2 separate regions of the Homo sapiens genome follow, and region 2 is linked to region 1. The links are contacts of gene promoters, found by promoter capture Hi-C in human tissues and cell types (Jung and others, 2019). All regions are on one chromosome and are shown on one strand. The core of a region is centred on a gene start or on the middle of the fragment in contact, and the rest is flanking DNA. Distances in the headings are between cores, read along the strand shown. Region 1 holds the start of SLC50A1 (solute carrier family 50 member 1). Region 2 holds the start of CLK2 (CDC like kinase 2).

Region 1 (6,255 bases), core at 3,155-5,654:
TCTCTCGCAGTGACCATGACGAAATTAGCGCAGTGGCTTTGGGGACTAGCGATCCTGGGCTCCACCTGGGTGGCCCTGACCACGGGAGCCTTGGGCCTGGAGCTGCCCTTGTCCTGCCAGGAAGTCCTGTGGCCACTGCCCGCCTACTTGCTGGTGTCCGCCGGCTGCTATGCCCTGGGCACTGTGGGCTATCGTGTGGCCACTTTTCATGACTGCGAGGACGCCGCACGCGAGCTGCAGAGCCAGATACAGGAGGCCCGAGCCGACTTAGCCCGCAGGGGGCTGCGCTTCTGACAGCCTAACCCCATTCCTGTGCGGACAGCCCTTCCTCCCATTTCCCATTAAAGAGCCAGTTTATTTTCTAACTTCGTTTAGTTTGAGTATGGAAAACGGGTATTGGGGATTCTATGTACTAACGGTCGAGAAGTGAATGTGAAAGAACCACCTTCTTGAGGCCATCTCAGCCTTTATCTTTGCATCTTGCTGGTGTTCCCATTTTTGCTCCCAAGGAGGCAAAGACCCCTTCTCAATATTTCTCAGGATGGAAATGACATTTCACTTTCCTGGTCCTTTCAACCCTGTAGGAAGTACTTCTTTTTTTTTTTTTTTGAGACGGAGCCTTGCTCTGTCGTCCAGGCTGGAGTGCAGTGGCGTGATCTCGGCTCACTGCAAGCTCCGCCTCCCGGGTTCACGCCATTCTCCTGCCTCAGCCTCCTGAGTAGCTGGGACTACAGGCGCCTGCCACCACGCCTGGCTAATTTTTTGTATTTTTAGTAGAGTCGGGGTTTCACCGTGTTGGCCAGGATGGTCTGATCTCCTGACCTCGTAATCCGCCCGCCTCGGCCTCCCAAAGTGCTGGGATTACAGGTGTGAGTCACCGCGCCCGGCGTACTACTTCTTTTTTTTTTTTTTTTTGAGACAGGGTCTCACTCTGTTGCCCAGGCTGGAGTGCAGTGGTGCAATCATGGCTCACTGCAGCCTCACCCTCCCAGGCTCAAACAGTTCTCCCACCTCAGCCTCCAGAGTAGCTGGGACTACAGGCATATGCCACCACGCCACCAGGCTAATGTTTAATTTTTTGTAGTGACAGGGTCTCGCTGTGTTGCTCAGGCTGTTCTCAAACTCCTGGGCTCAAGTGATCCTCCTGCCTGGGCCTCCCAAAGTGCTGTGATTACAGACATAAGCCACCTTACCCGGCCAGAAGTACTTTCTTGAAGCCTAAGTTCCATTCTTCATAACATCCAAGTTTTGTTATTTTTAAGGCCTTCCTGGGTCTTTCCAACCTTTTGGTTCTTTGAGATACCTTTTCTGAGCCTACCCTACCAACCTGAGAATAACTGTGGATCTATCCTTCACCAAACCAGGCAGGTTTAGAATTATGAGTAGAGAATGAACCATCGTGGGCAGGGGTGGGGAACACTTTATTTTAAGGCATATTCATATCAGCATATAAGGCATATTCATATCACAATGGCACGATCTCAGCTCACTGCAACCTCCACCTCCTGGGTTCAAGCAATTCTCCTGCCTCAGCCTCCCAAGTATCTGGGATTACAGGCATGTGCCATCATGCCTGGCTAATTTTGTATTTTTAGTAGAGATGGGGTTTCACCATGTTAGTCAGGTTGGTCTTGAACTCCTGACCTCAGGCGATCCGCCCACCTTGGCCTCCCAAAGTGCTGGGATTACAGGCGTGAGCCACCGCGCCCGGCCTTTTAAGGCATATTCTAAAGATTGCACCCCAACCTCCAAAATTAAAAAAAAAAATCTCTAAAAAATAAAAAGTGATTTCATCTCCTAGGCCCCAATCAATCATCTAAGTAAAGCTTTTTCTTTGGTCCTTTTATCCTCAAAGTCATCTCTTGTTCCCACAACCCACTGCACCTGGGAAGCTGGACAGCAGGCCCAGCTGAAACAAGGAGGTCTCTTTGGTTCAGGTTGGCACTAAGGTGCCCAGTGGTCAGATGAGCAGCCTCAGGTTTGCAGGAGCCAGTAGTTCCTGTCTTGCTCCTGGGGGTACTTCCAGAAAAGCCAGAAGCGGATAAAGCTGGTGACGATTCCTGGAAAGTTGGACACCTGAAATCACAAGAACTGCTATGAGGAGAGGAGCCAGTTTTCCATCTTGCACCCCTGTCACCCCATCCCAGTTGTGCTTACCATGATATAGGGATCTCTGAGTCGAAACCCATAGAGGCACCAGGAGGCAGAGGTGAGAAGGGTAGCAATGGTGAGTGGGTAGGAGAGACATTGGGTTGATTTAGTTTGAATCACCTTAGCCTGTGGGAAAGAATGGAAGACTCTCTTGGCCCAAGCACATCGTAAAGCTTCACTTGCCTAAGAATTTCCTCAAGAAAAAGGTCAGACACCCTCCCTGATCTGTCACCCAACCTTTCCTGCCTCCCACTCGCCCACTTCTACTGCCTTGTCTTCTTCCAGGGTTTGGATCTCCCCTTCCTCGGGACTGTAAGCCATAGTATTTGGCTATGAGAGCCTGACTCTTATCTCTCCTACCTCCTTGGACACCCCCACTCACCAAGTCAGCCAGTGGTGAGAGGTACATGCTGATGGTGAAGACACTGCAGAAGAGGCCCAACTGCTGAAGCCGGGCCTCAGGGTTGGGTACCAGGAGCCAAAAGTAGCCATAACCCAGGAGAAGGACCCCTAGCAGGGTTGCAGTCTGTAGGAGCACAACACGCTGCAGGGGAGAGAGTACCCTTACTTCCAGATGTGCACTCTGACTTCCCTGCTAGAGTTAATTCATCCTGCCTTCTCCAGTGCTCCAATGGGGAAGCCAAGCTGTCTAGGCCTCCAGCACTGCACTGTCACAGCTTCTTTCCCACCACCAACTTGATAGGAAAGTCTTATCCACCCACAACACTGGAGACTTCTGGGGGAGATAAATATGTGTTTTTTTCTGTGTGCTTGGCACACACAGTAGGAGCTTCATAAATGCTTGTGTGATTTAGCAGGGACGCAGAGCTAATCATCTCATTCTCACCCACAGGCCCTGGCTCTGAAAGAAATATCAGAGACAAAAGCCCTTTCCCCTTAGCTTGTTGGCTGAAGCCCAGGGCAGGCAGCATAGGCATCTCAGGCTAGGCAGAGCTACCAGCCTTGCCTAAATGGGGGCAATGTGTTCATCTCAGAAGGCTGGCTTCATAGAGGAAGGGGACCTGCAAGGCTGGAGAGGCCTTCCTGGAAAAGGTGGCAGTGCCAGCTGTTACAGTCTTCTAGGAAATAGTGTTTGCCCTGCCAGCAAGGCAGGGCGTGCAGCAGATAGGTGGGTCCAAGGGAGGGCCTCTACCTTCCGAGGGCAGTAATGCAGATATGCCAAGATATACAGGGTCTGAAGCGCAGCACCCACTGTGTTGACGACGATGAGGATCCCGTCTCCCTTCAAAGCCCCATAACTCAGCCAGCCCAGGTTGCTGCAGGGTGGAGGGGATGGACATGGCTCAAAGGGTTCAGTGTGAGAGGAGGACCCAAAGGGTCTTTCACTCTTTTTTTTTTTTTGAGACGTAGTCTCGCTCTGTCGCCCAGGCTGGAGTGCGGTGGCACGATCTCGGCTCACTGCAAGCTCCGCCTCCTGGGTTCACGCCATTCTCCTGCCTCAGCCTCCCGAGTAGCTGGGACTACAGGCGCCCGGCACCACGCCCGGCTAATTTTTTGTATTTTTAGTAGAGACGGGGTTTCACCGTGTTAGCCAGGATGGTCTGGATCTCCTGACCTCGTGATCCGCCCGTCTCGGCCTCCCAAAGTGCAGGGATTACAGGCGTGAGCCACCGCGCCCGGCCAAACCTCTTTCACTCTTGCTCCTCCTGCCCCGCCCCCACCTCCCTCTGGTAGCCTTTCCCACTACCGCAGCCGTCGGCCCCTCACTTGACTTCCGTGGTGAGAAAGGGCAGGAACTGGACGTTGTCCACACTCCGGGTCATTCGCATGTGCCTGAGGTCCGAGCTGTAATGGGGCCCCGAAGGGAGGGGTGGGGGTGGGAAGGGAGAAGCAGAGTGCTAGAGGGGGATGCCCAATGCCTGTCATCCTTTCCGGACCACCGCAGACCCCGCCCCCTCTCCCCCCCGCCAGCTATCCTGCCTTCTCCTTCAGGCCTAGTGACCAGCCTCGCCCTTGTACCCCGGTCCCCTCGACCCGATCCCACTTTGATCCCGGTTCCGGACGAGCCAGGTGCTGTGGCCACGTCTCTGTCCCCTCTCTCTCCTTTCCTGACTGCCTAGTCCTCCCCAACCCAGCCCGGCCGCACTCTCACAGGCCGGCGGAGAACATGCCAAGGGTGAAGACCACGCATGCTCCGTAAATGAGCGAGTCCAGAAAGCCGCCCGCCTCCATTACGACTAGAGTCGGATCCCGCGCCCAGCGCCCGCCGCGAGCCTGCGGTTGCCGGGACCTACTGCAGCCCAGACCTGCGGCTCTGGAGCCCCGCCCCGCGCACTCGGCTCCGCCCCCGCACGCTCGGGCCGTCCCTCCGGAAACTGCGCCGAAGCCCCACCCTCCCTCCGACGCCGAACCGGAACTCGCGCCCCTCTCCTCCGAGCGCCTTCCCAGTACCCTGGTCCAGACCTCTTCCATGTCCCGGTCAGTCCCCTTCCTAGGGCTCCGCGGGTGTGTCCCCGATACCTGCCGCTGCTCACACTCTGCCTACCCCTTGGATCATCTAGACGCCCCCAGTCTCAACGCTCGTGTTCCCACAGGCCTGTGCGCCTTCGGCGGTGGACCTCCAAACAAAAGCTTGCTAGTTTAACAAGACTTCAGCACGCTTTCCATCCAGAGCTCCACATCAGAACCTCAGTTGCCCAGGGTTTGGGAAGTTTTTTTCTGGAGTGTGCTGCCGAAGCTTTTTCTCAAAATAACACATTACCAGGAATCACCAAGCCTTCCTCTTTTGCCCTCCCTCTCGGGTCAACTTTACATGACGTGGCCAATCCACTGACGCCTCTATCACTGACCCCCGGTCCAACCCACTTGTTACTGGGAACTTTCCCTCCCAGCCTCCCACACGTCTCTGCTAGTGTGGCTGTGGGGCGGGGCCGCATGCCTCAGCTGGCGTTCCCAGCTTCCCTGACTCACCGAAACAGCGTGAGTACCTGAATGGTAGTATGCCAAAGCCCTGCGGTGACGGAGTGGGAGTGGGGTAGAGGTCGGATAGGAAGAACTTCCAGAGTGGAGTGCAGCTCAGAACCCGAGAGACAGCTGTCAGGAGCACTCCGGTCCTGGACAGCCCTCAGAGGAGGAAACATCCCACCCTTTTGGCCTCGTGAGGGGCACACATTCTTTGGAGAGAAAGAAATTCAAACCCAGTTGCTACTGTTGTAGCACAGAGAGCCTCGCACTTAGCAGGGACTCAATGGTCATATGTTTTAATATGGAGTGGCAGAAAAGCATGTCCGAAAAAACACATTGCTTTATTTTGAGACAAAGAACATTGTATAAAAAAACTCCAGTTGTAGAAATCAGGACAGACACACAGCAACTTATATACAGATACTATACACGTGGGCCCTGCCCTTTAGGCTACACTCTAGGCAGAATGTACACATGGGCACTGCCCTTACAGCTACACTCTAAGAACAGGTTGGCACAGCCCCCCTGCTGGCACAGCTCTGGGGAGTGCTGCCCCAGGATGGGAGAGAATGCAGTACCTGGCTACAAACTTCTCTGTGGCAGCTCCACAGATGAGGTCTTGCTGGGAGATGCTGGGTCAGCCCAAGCATGCTGCCTCTCCTGTACCTGGCTTCCAAGCAAGAAACTGTTTCTTGCTTTTCCTTCAGTCAGTTCATCTGGGCATCCTGGCTCTCTCCTGGAGGGGGCATCTTTGACAAGCTTTGCCCATCCACGTGGCCCCTTCCAGCTCAGCTCCCACTGTGCCTTAAGGGACCATGCCTGCACAGCTTGTTTCTTTGGCTTAAAGGCAGGAATGGTGGGAAAGGACTGTCTCCACTTCTTTCTCCATCCCTCCGAGGTGAAGGTGGGGATGGCACTGTCGGGCTGGTTGGCCTCCTTCCGGTTGAAAACCTTAATACTGACCCGTTTTGAGGCTGCTAGGTGATAGCTTATGCCTGTGGTGGGAGTGGTTCCCAGGGCTGGGGGCTCTGAAAGTGGCCCCAAGACAGGTTTGGAGTGCCTGTCCCTCTCTTCAGCCTGTCCCTCTTTAAGGCCAGGTGTGGCATACACCTTCACGGGGTTTGCAGCAGCAGAAGTGGAAGGAGCAGCACAGTCCAGGCAAGTGGGAAGAGGCGTGGG
Region 2 (7,344 bases), core at 2,787-5,286, 140 kb before region 1:
CTAACCTCCATCTGACCATCCTTCATCCAGCTCCTCTCTAATATTTCCTGACTTTATTTATTTACTCATTCTAGAGTCAGGGTCTTGCTCTGTTGCTCAAGCTGGAGTGCAGTGGTGTGATCATGACCCACTGCAGCCTCAAAGCAATCTTCCCACCTCAGTTTCCTGAGTAGCTGGGACTACAGGTGTGAGCCACCTTGCTCAGCTCCCTGACTTTAATATCGTTATTCTCAGATTATATTATTTCTCTTTCAATTGACCTTTCTGACCACTTCTCAATTCCTTCTGTAAAGTCTCTAACTCTTTCTCTTTCTCATTTTCTTTTTTTCTTTTCTTTTCTTTTTTTTTTTTTTTTTTTTTTGAGATAGAGTCTCACTCTGTCGCCCAAGCTGGAGTGCAGTGGCACGATCACGGGTCACTACAGCCTCAACCTCCCCAGGCTCAGGTGATCCTCCCACCTCAGCCTCCCGAGTAGCTGGGACTACAGGTGGGAGACACCATGAATGGCTAATTTTTATTTTTTATTTTATTTTATTTTAGACACAGTCTCACTCTGTCGCCCAGGCTGGAGTGCAATGGCACCATCTCGGCTCACTGCAACCTCCACCTTCTGGATTCAAGCGATTCTCGTGCCTCAGCCTTCCAAATAGCTGGGATTACAGGCACCTGCCATCACACCCGGCTAATTTTTGTATTTTTAGTAGAGACAGGGTTTCACCAGGTTGGCCAGGCTGGTCTCGAACTCCTGTGCTCAAGTGATCCACCTTCCTGGGCCTCCAAAACTGTTGGGATTACAGGCATGAGCCACCGCGCTTGGCCTAATTTTTGTATTTTTTTTTTTTTTTTTTTTTTTTTTTTTGAGACGGAGTCTCGCTGTCGCCCAGGCTGGAGTGCAGTGGCGCAATCTCGGCTCACTGCAGGCTCCGCCCCCTGGGGTTCACGCCATTCTCCTGCCTCAGCCTCCCGAGTAGCTGGGACTACAGGCGCCCGCCACCTCGCCCGGCTAATTTTTTGTATTTTTAGTAGAGACGGGGTTTCACCGTGTTAGCCAGGATGGTCTCGATCTCCTGACCTCGTGATCCGCCCGCCTTGGCCTCCCAAAGTGCTGGGATTACAGGCGTGAGCCACCGCGCCCGGCCTTGTATTTTTTTAAGAGTCTGGGTTTTGCCCTGTTGCCCAGGCTGTCTCAAACTCCTATGCTTAAGTGATCCACCCACGTTGGCCTCCCAAAGTGTTGGTATTACAGGCGTGAGCCACCTCGCCCAGCCTTCCTGTTCTTTTTTAAGATTTAGTAAACTGGCCAAGCGCCGTGGCTGATGCTTGTAATCCCAGCACTTTGGGAGGCCGATGGGGGAGGATTGCTTGAGCTCAGGGGTTCAAGACTAGCCTGGGTAACAAAGTGAGGCACTATCTCTACAAGAAAAAAAAAAATAGCTGGGCGTGGTGATGCGCGCTTTTTTTTTTTTTTTTTTTTTTTTTTGAGACAGAGTCTCGCTCTGTCACCCAGGCTGCAGTGCAATGGCCCGATCTCGGCTCACTGCAACCTCCGCCTCCCGGGTTCAAGCGATTCTCCTACCTCAGCCTCCTGAGTAGCTGGGATTACAGGCGCCCGCCACCATGCCCGGCTAATTTTTGTATTTTTAGTAGAGACGGGATTTCACCATGTTGATCAGGCTAATCTCGAACTCCTGACCTCGTGATCCGCCCGCCTCGGCTTCCCAAAGTGTTGGGATTATAGGCGAGAGCCACCGCGCCCGGCCCTAGTAAACTTGTATTTCTCACACATTATGTAAGCCACCTTAGGATACAGTTCTCAAGTAAGTCCCCCTTTTCGGCACCCGATTCTCCAACCCTCCATTGCTCAAACCTTTCCTCCATGGCTGTGTCCCCACCCCGAGTCGTGCATAACTTTTGTTGATGACAAAAGGTGGCAGACTTTTGTCCTGGGGATAGGTAGGTGAAGTGTTTTAAGAAATGGTTATTTTCAGGCTATGCAGAAGAATGAGACTTCACCATCAAGCCTCACTACAGTCAGGCTTGCAGAGCAGCGACACTGTATTGACAATGACAATCCTTTCTTTTAAACTCCAAACCTAACTAAGCCACACGTCTCCATGCAAAGGGTAAAAGATTGAAGACGGAGTGGGAAAGGACAGGAGGCGGGGCATAGCGGGCCTGGAAGGCTTCCAGCTTGTCCCTGTGGACCCTCCTCGCCCCTATGAACTTCCGCCCCCAGTACCTCCGAGGCTCTGACAGGCGGATGCCTGCCAACTACGTGAGCACGTGGTGGCGCGCGCGGTCCTGGGGGCGGAGCCCAGGGGGTAGCTGGGAAGCGACGCAGGACGTCGGTCCGTGCGTACGTGCTCGCTCACGGCGGCGGCGGCGGAGCGGAGAGGCCAGAGCCGGAGACCGAGCTGGGATCGGGCCCCGGGCGGGGGCGGTGCGAGCGGCGCCAAGCAGATCTTAGGGGCGGGGACGGAGCCGGGGCGGGCGGGACTGAAGCGGAGCCCGGGAACGGGGCGGGAGGTCCCAGGGTCCCGGGTTGGGGGGGTGGAGCAGCATTTCGTCGCCGCGGGGGTGCCGGGACTCCGGCCGCAGTGTCGCCGCCATCACGGACTTCCTGTGGGACAAGCGCACGGGCCTCGCCGCCAGAACGGTGAGCGCGCGGGTTGGCTGGCCGCGCGAAAAGATGGCGACCGCGGGGCGGGCGGGGTTAGGCTTGGGTTGGGGGCAAGGGACGGGGGCGAGATTTGGAGAGGAGGAGAGTTGAGACCTACGAAGCGACGGAGTAGGGAGATGAGGGGGAAGGAGGTCGGCCTGCGTTAGATGTACCAAGAAGACCTGTAGGAAGCTTGGGCGGAACCAGACTAGAAGGGATGATAGAGTAAGGATGGGAGTGGTTCCAGAGATGTGAAGGAGTGGAATATCAAAGTTGGACTCGGGTCCAATCAAAGCTGGAGGGGAGGAATACATCACCGTGTCACTTGGAACATGCAGGAAGAATTTGCCTGTAGGAGTTCTGGATTTTCTGAGTAAGAAAGGAAAAAGCAAAAGATTTCAAACTTGAGAAAGGTAGGCTAGTGATGTTTTGAGGGGACAGTGCTGTGAGGCCGTTTGATGGTAGTATGTGGTGAGATGGCATTTATGTGGCTATGCTGATTAGGATAACTATGCTGGGAAAATCTTGTGCTTGCAGCTTGGTATGCTACCGGCCCCAGTTACACCAAGAATGCATCAAATACCACCCTCCTCAATTTGGGGAGGTTGGGAAGAAGTGATACAGAATGGTGGTCAGACATCGGAATCATTAAACCTTTTGCATACGCGATTCTCATACACCCCCACCAAGACTTATGTCCCTGGGCCTGTTTCATTTTATTGTGCCTTCCTATTCTCATCTTCCTGGATTGTGACAGTGATTTTTCTCTTTTTTCCTTGAAGGAAAAAAAGGATTTGTGAACCATCCCATTCCAATTCCATTAACTGGAAGGTGGCCAGCTGTCAGCTAAGTAGGGCTGATATTAATTAAAAACCACTTACTGGCCAGGCGCGGTGGCTCACATCTGTAATCCCAGCACTTTGGGAGGCCAAGGCGGGCGGATCACCTGAGGTTGGGAGTTCGAGACCAGCCTGACCAACATGGAGAAACCCTGTCTCTACTAAAAATACAAAATTAGCTGGGCGTGGCGGCGCATGCCTGTAATCCCAGCTACTCGGGAGGCTGAGGCAGGAGAATCGCTTGAACCCTGCAGGCGGAGGTTATGGTGAGCCGAGATTGCGCCATTGCACTCCAGCCTGGGCAACAAGAGCAAAACTCCGTTTCAAAAAAAAAAAAAAAAACACAAGAAACAGTTGTTATCTACGTCTTAAGCACAAGAGTGGAGGGGCCAGATGGGATGCTGACTGTATTTTGTGGCCTACTACATTAAAACCTCTCAAGGGAGAGTTGGCCAAAGATGTGAGAGATGATTAAGTTAATTCAAGGGGCCCGACCCAGATCCCTGGAGCTGATAGTATTTGGCGTTTACCTGGTATATGTAGAAACCTGGGAGACTGGATTCCTACCCTCAGGACACTGATAGTCTACTTGAGGAGATGAGATGTACTCTTAATGAGTGTACAACATTTATCATAACTGTAAACCAAAGCTTTACTCTATTGACTTGTGAGGAACTCAGCATCACACAGATCTATATCTTAGATCCTGAACGGGGATACACTGTGGCAGTCTCCATCGGTCGTCATACACTTTGCTCTGTAGTGAACTGTGTCCTAGACCTGAAGGTCTTCATGGAGCTGTGTTTGAAGAAAATAAGGATAGAACACTTGAACTGGCTGGGTGCGGTGGCTCACGCCTGTAATCCCAGCACTTTGGGAGGCCGAGGCAGGAGGATCACGAGGTCAGGAGTTTGAGACCATCCTGGCCAACATGGTGAAACCCCGTCTCTACTAAAAATATAAAAATTAGCCAGGAGTGGTGGTGCGTGCCTGTAATCCCAGCTACACAGGAGGCTGAGGCAGGAGAGTTGCTTGAACCTGGGAAGTGGAGGTTGCAGTGAGCCGAGATTGTGCCACTGCACTCCAGCCTGGCCACACAGCGAGACTCTGTCTCAAGAATAAAATAAGAACACTTGAACTGAGGGGTGGGTAATGAGGGATGGGTTTGGGGGCTTTCTAGAGTTTCAGCCAGAGTTAGTAGGTGGCTGTACTCCAATAAGGAGGAATTGTAAGTACAGAGGAAGACTGAGGAAGTTGTGCCTGGTAAAAAGAGGCAGAAATAAGAGGGGAAAGCAGCTTAGCATCTTTGGAGCAGCCAGTCCTTGGAGGAGATTTCTGAAAACTCGAAACTTTCCTATTTCCGCTTTCCCTTGCCTTCCAGATGCCGCATCCTCGAAGGTACCACTCCTCAGAGCGAGGCAGCCGGGGGAGTTACCGTGAACACTATCGGAGCCGAAAGCATAAGCGACGAAGAAGTCGCTCCTGGTCAAGTAGTAGTGACCGGACACGACGGCGTCGGCGAGAGGACAGCTACCATGTCCGTTCTCGAAGGTGAGGCCTCAGGAAGAGATACTCAAACACAGGGTCACTCGCTCATTCCTTTGTTCAACAAATACTTATTGGTTATATGCTAAAACCATTGCCTTAAGTAGCTGGCTGAAGGTAATGTCGGGATAGATAACCAAAGAAGCCATTTGGGCTGCAGTGTTAAGTGTTAGAATACATAATGAGGAACTGAGGACGTACCCAGTGCGTTTGGTTGGAGTGGGGCAGGATGTTAATTCAGATAAAACATTGCAGAGAAAGCAACATCTGTATATGTCTGGAGGACAAGTAGAGTCAGGTGGGGGAAGTGTCTTTGGGCAGAGGGAAAGCATGTGCAAAGGACTGGGAGCTACAGGTAACTAATAAGCTAACAGATAAGACAAAGTTAGATCTTTGTGTTTTTAATTTTTTAAAAATTTTAAAATATCATTTATTTATTTTTGAGACAGAGTTTCACTCTGTTGCCCAGGCTGGAGTGCAGTGGCAAGATCTCAGCTCACTGCAAACTCTATGGCCCCAGGTTCAAGCGATTCTTGTGCCTCAGCCTCCCAAGTACCTGGGACTACAGGCATGCGCCATCATGCCTGGCTAATTTTTTTTTTTTTTTTTTGTATTTTTAGTAGAGACAGGATTTCACCATGTTGGCCTCAAACTCCTGACCTCAAGTGCTCCACCTGCCTTGGCCTCCCAAAGTGCTGGGATTACAGGCGTGAGCCACTGTGCCCGGCCCAGTTTTAATATTTTAGTGGTATGTTCAGTGGAAAGAATGGGTTAAGGATGGTTTAGAGCAAGGGGGGATTTCATTCAGGAAAGCTTGAGAAAAAAATGGCTCTTTGTTTCTTTGTATCACTGCAGCGGGAAAAAGGCCCCAATAGGGAGTGGTTCTGCAGATGCCTTTTCAGAGGTTTTGGTGACATGGCAGATGTGCTTGTTACCTCACTTCTCTGGTCCCTTGGTCCTCTCAGTGACTCAACAAGTGTCTGAGAACAGTTTTCTAGCATTACTCTTTGTCCTCACTAAGGCAGGACCTTGTCACAGGGTATGGTAGGGAATGTGATCTGAACAGATACACCTCATTGGTATTTGTTATCCAACAGCAGTTATGATGATCGTTCGTCCGACCGGAGGGTGTATGACCGGCGATACTGTGGCAGCTACAGACGCAACGATTATAGCCGGGATCGGGGAGATGCCTACTATGACACAGACTATCGGCATTCCTATGAATATCAGCGGGAGAACAGCAGTTACCGCAGCCAGCGCAGCAGCCGGAGGAAGCACAGACGGCGGAGGAGGCGCAGCCGGACATTTAGCCGCTCATCTTCGGTGAGTGCCAGCCCAGGCCCTTCCTCTCCCCACTCTTCTGCAGGCCCTCTAGGACTCTGGTAAGTGAGCAGTATCCTTGTTCTCAGCTGAACATTGGGGCATGAACACTGAGGTGGGCACTGAGTTTGCCTACTTTCTTGGAAGCTCTCCGACTCTTGAAGGGCCCTGGATCTGCTTTGGAGATGGATGGGCACGGAGCATTTGTGACCCCCAGTGCTCTCCCTGGCATGTTGGGCTTATTGTGTTGGGAGCAGCTTCTCCGCCCCAGCGGCCTCCACTCTTTAATGGGGACCTTGCTTGTGAACTGCCTTTTTCCCCCAAGCCCTGGGCTCTGTAGCCCCCTTGGCAGGCGGGCTTGGGTGGGGGCAAGGGGAGATCTGTGTCTGCCCGGAAGGGCATTGTGTAGAGCATGGGGTTGTGGGTGACATTGGCAACAACACCACTTCTCTGCTCTGCCCATGCCTCTCCCTGTTCCTGTTTTGGGTTTGGGGACTTGGGATTATGCGCCGCTCTCTCTTCTCACACCGATCCACCTTACTGCATCTGACGTGTTCCCTTCCACTGTCCCCCATCATCGTCTGTCCCCCCTGGCTGGGCGCCTGTGACCGGTGACCCCTCTACCACCCACCCCGCCTCCCTCCGGCCCCCGCTCCGACACCTGGCTTGCTCCGACCCCCCCTGCCCCCCGACAGCAGCACAGCAGCCGGAGAGCCAAGAGTGTAGAGGACGACGCTGAGGGCCACCTCATCTACCACGTCGGGGACTGGCTACAAGAGCGATGTACAAGCCAAATCGTAACAATCCTATAGCCTGTAATGGTCCCATAGCCATCCTAACGTCCCAAGCCAACCTGAGTCACAGCCTCTTGCCTTTTCTCAGTGGTGTTGTTTATCTGGGTGGTTTGAGTTGCTGTTGAGAATTGACCTCTGTTGTCCACTCCCAGCTCTCACGGCCCCTGGGTTAAAGGTGGTGGGA

The links. Contacts are between HindIII fragments. The study calls those that stand out against the background at their distance.
Region 2: a contact is called between a fragment that was not itself captured here and the fragment with the promoter of SLC50A1 in region 1, in 1 of the 25 tissues and cell types used here (dorsolateral prefrontal cortex).

The regions. Positions count from the first base shown.
Region 1 is chr1:155,134,001-155,140,255 of GRCh38, reverse strand. SLC50A1 (solute carrier family 50 member 1) reads right to left here and starts at 4,404. Exons shown (of 6, transcript NM_018845.4): 1 at 4,265-4,404; 2 at 3,880-3,957; 3 at 3,305-3,428; 4 at 2,534-2,695; 5 at 2,158-2,277; 6 at 1,403-2,076. The coding sequence starts at 4,344. The coding sequence ends at 1,975. EFNA1 (ephrin A1) reads right to left here. Exons shown (of 5, transcript NM_004428.3): 5 at 5,357-6,255. The coding sequence ends at 6,189. It overlaps DPM3 (dolichyl-phosphate mannosyltransferase subunit 3, regulatory), which reads left to right. Exons shown (of 2, transcript NM_153741.2): 2 at 11-365. The coding sequence starts at 16. The coding sequence ends at 294. RefSeq lists a silencer at 4,364-4,603 and an enhancer at 4,874-4,963. The HindIII fragment of the contact is 5,011 bases long and covers 3,535-6,255 here.
Region 2 is chr1:155,268,513-155,275,856 of GRCh38, reverse strand. It overlaps CLK2 (CDC like kinase 2), which reads left to right and starts at 2,353. Exons shown (of 13, transcript NM_001294338.2): 1 at 2,353-2,656; 2 at 4,880-5,049; 3 at 6,141-6,369; 4 at 7,062-7,149. The coding sequence starts at 4,880. RefSeq lists an enhancer at 1,260-1,760. The HindIII fragment of the contact is 5,946 bases long and covers 1,064-7,009 here.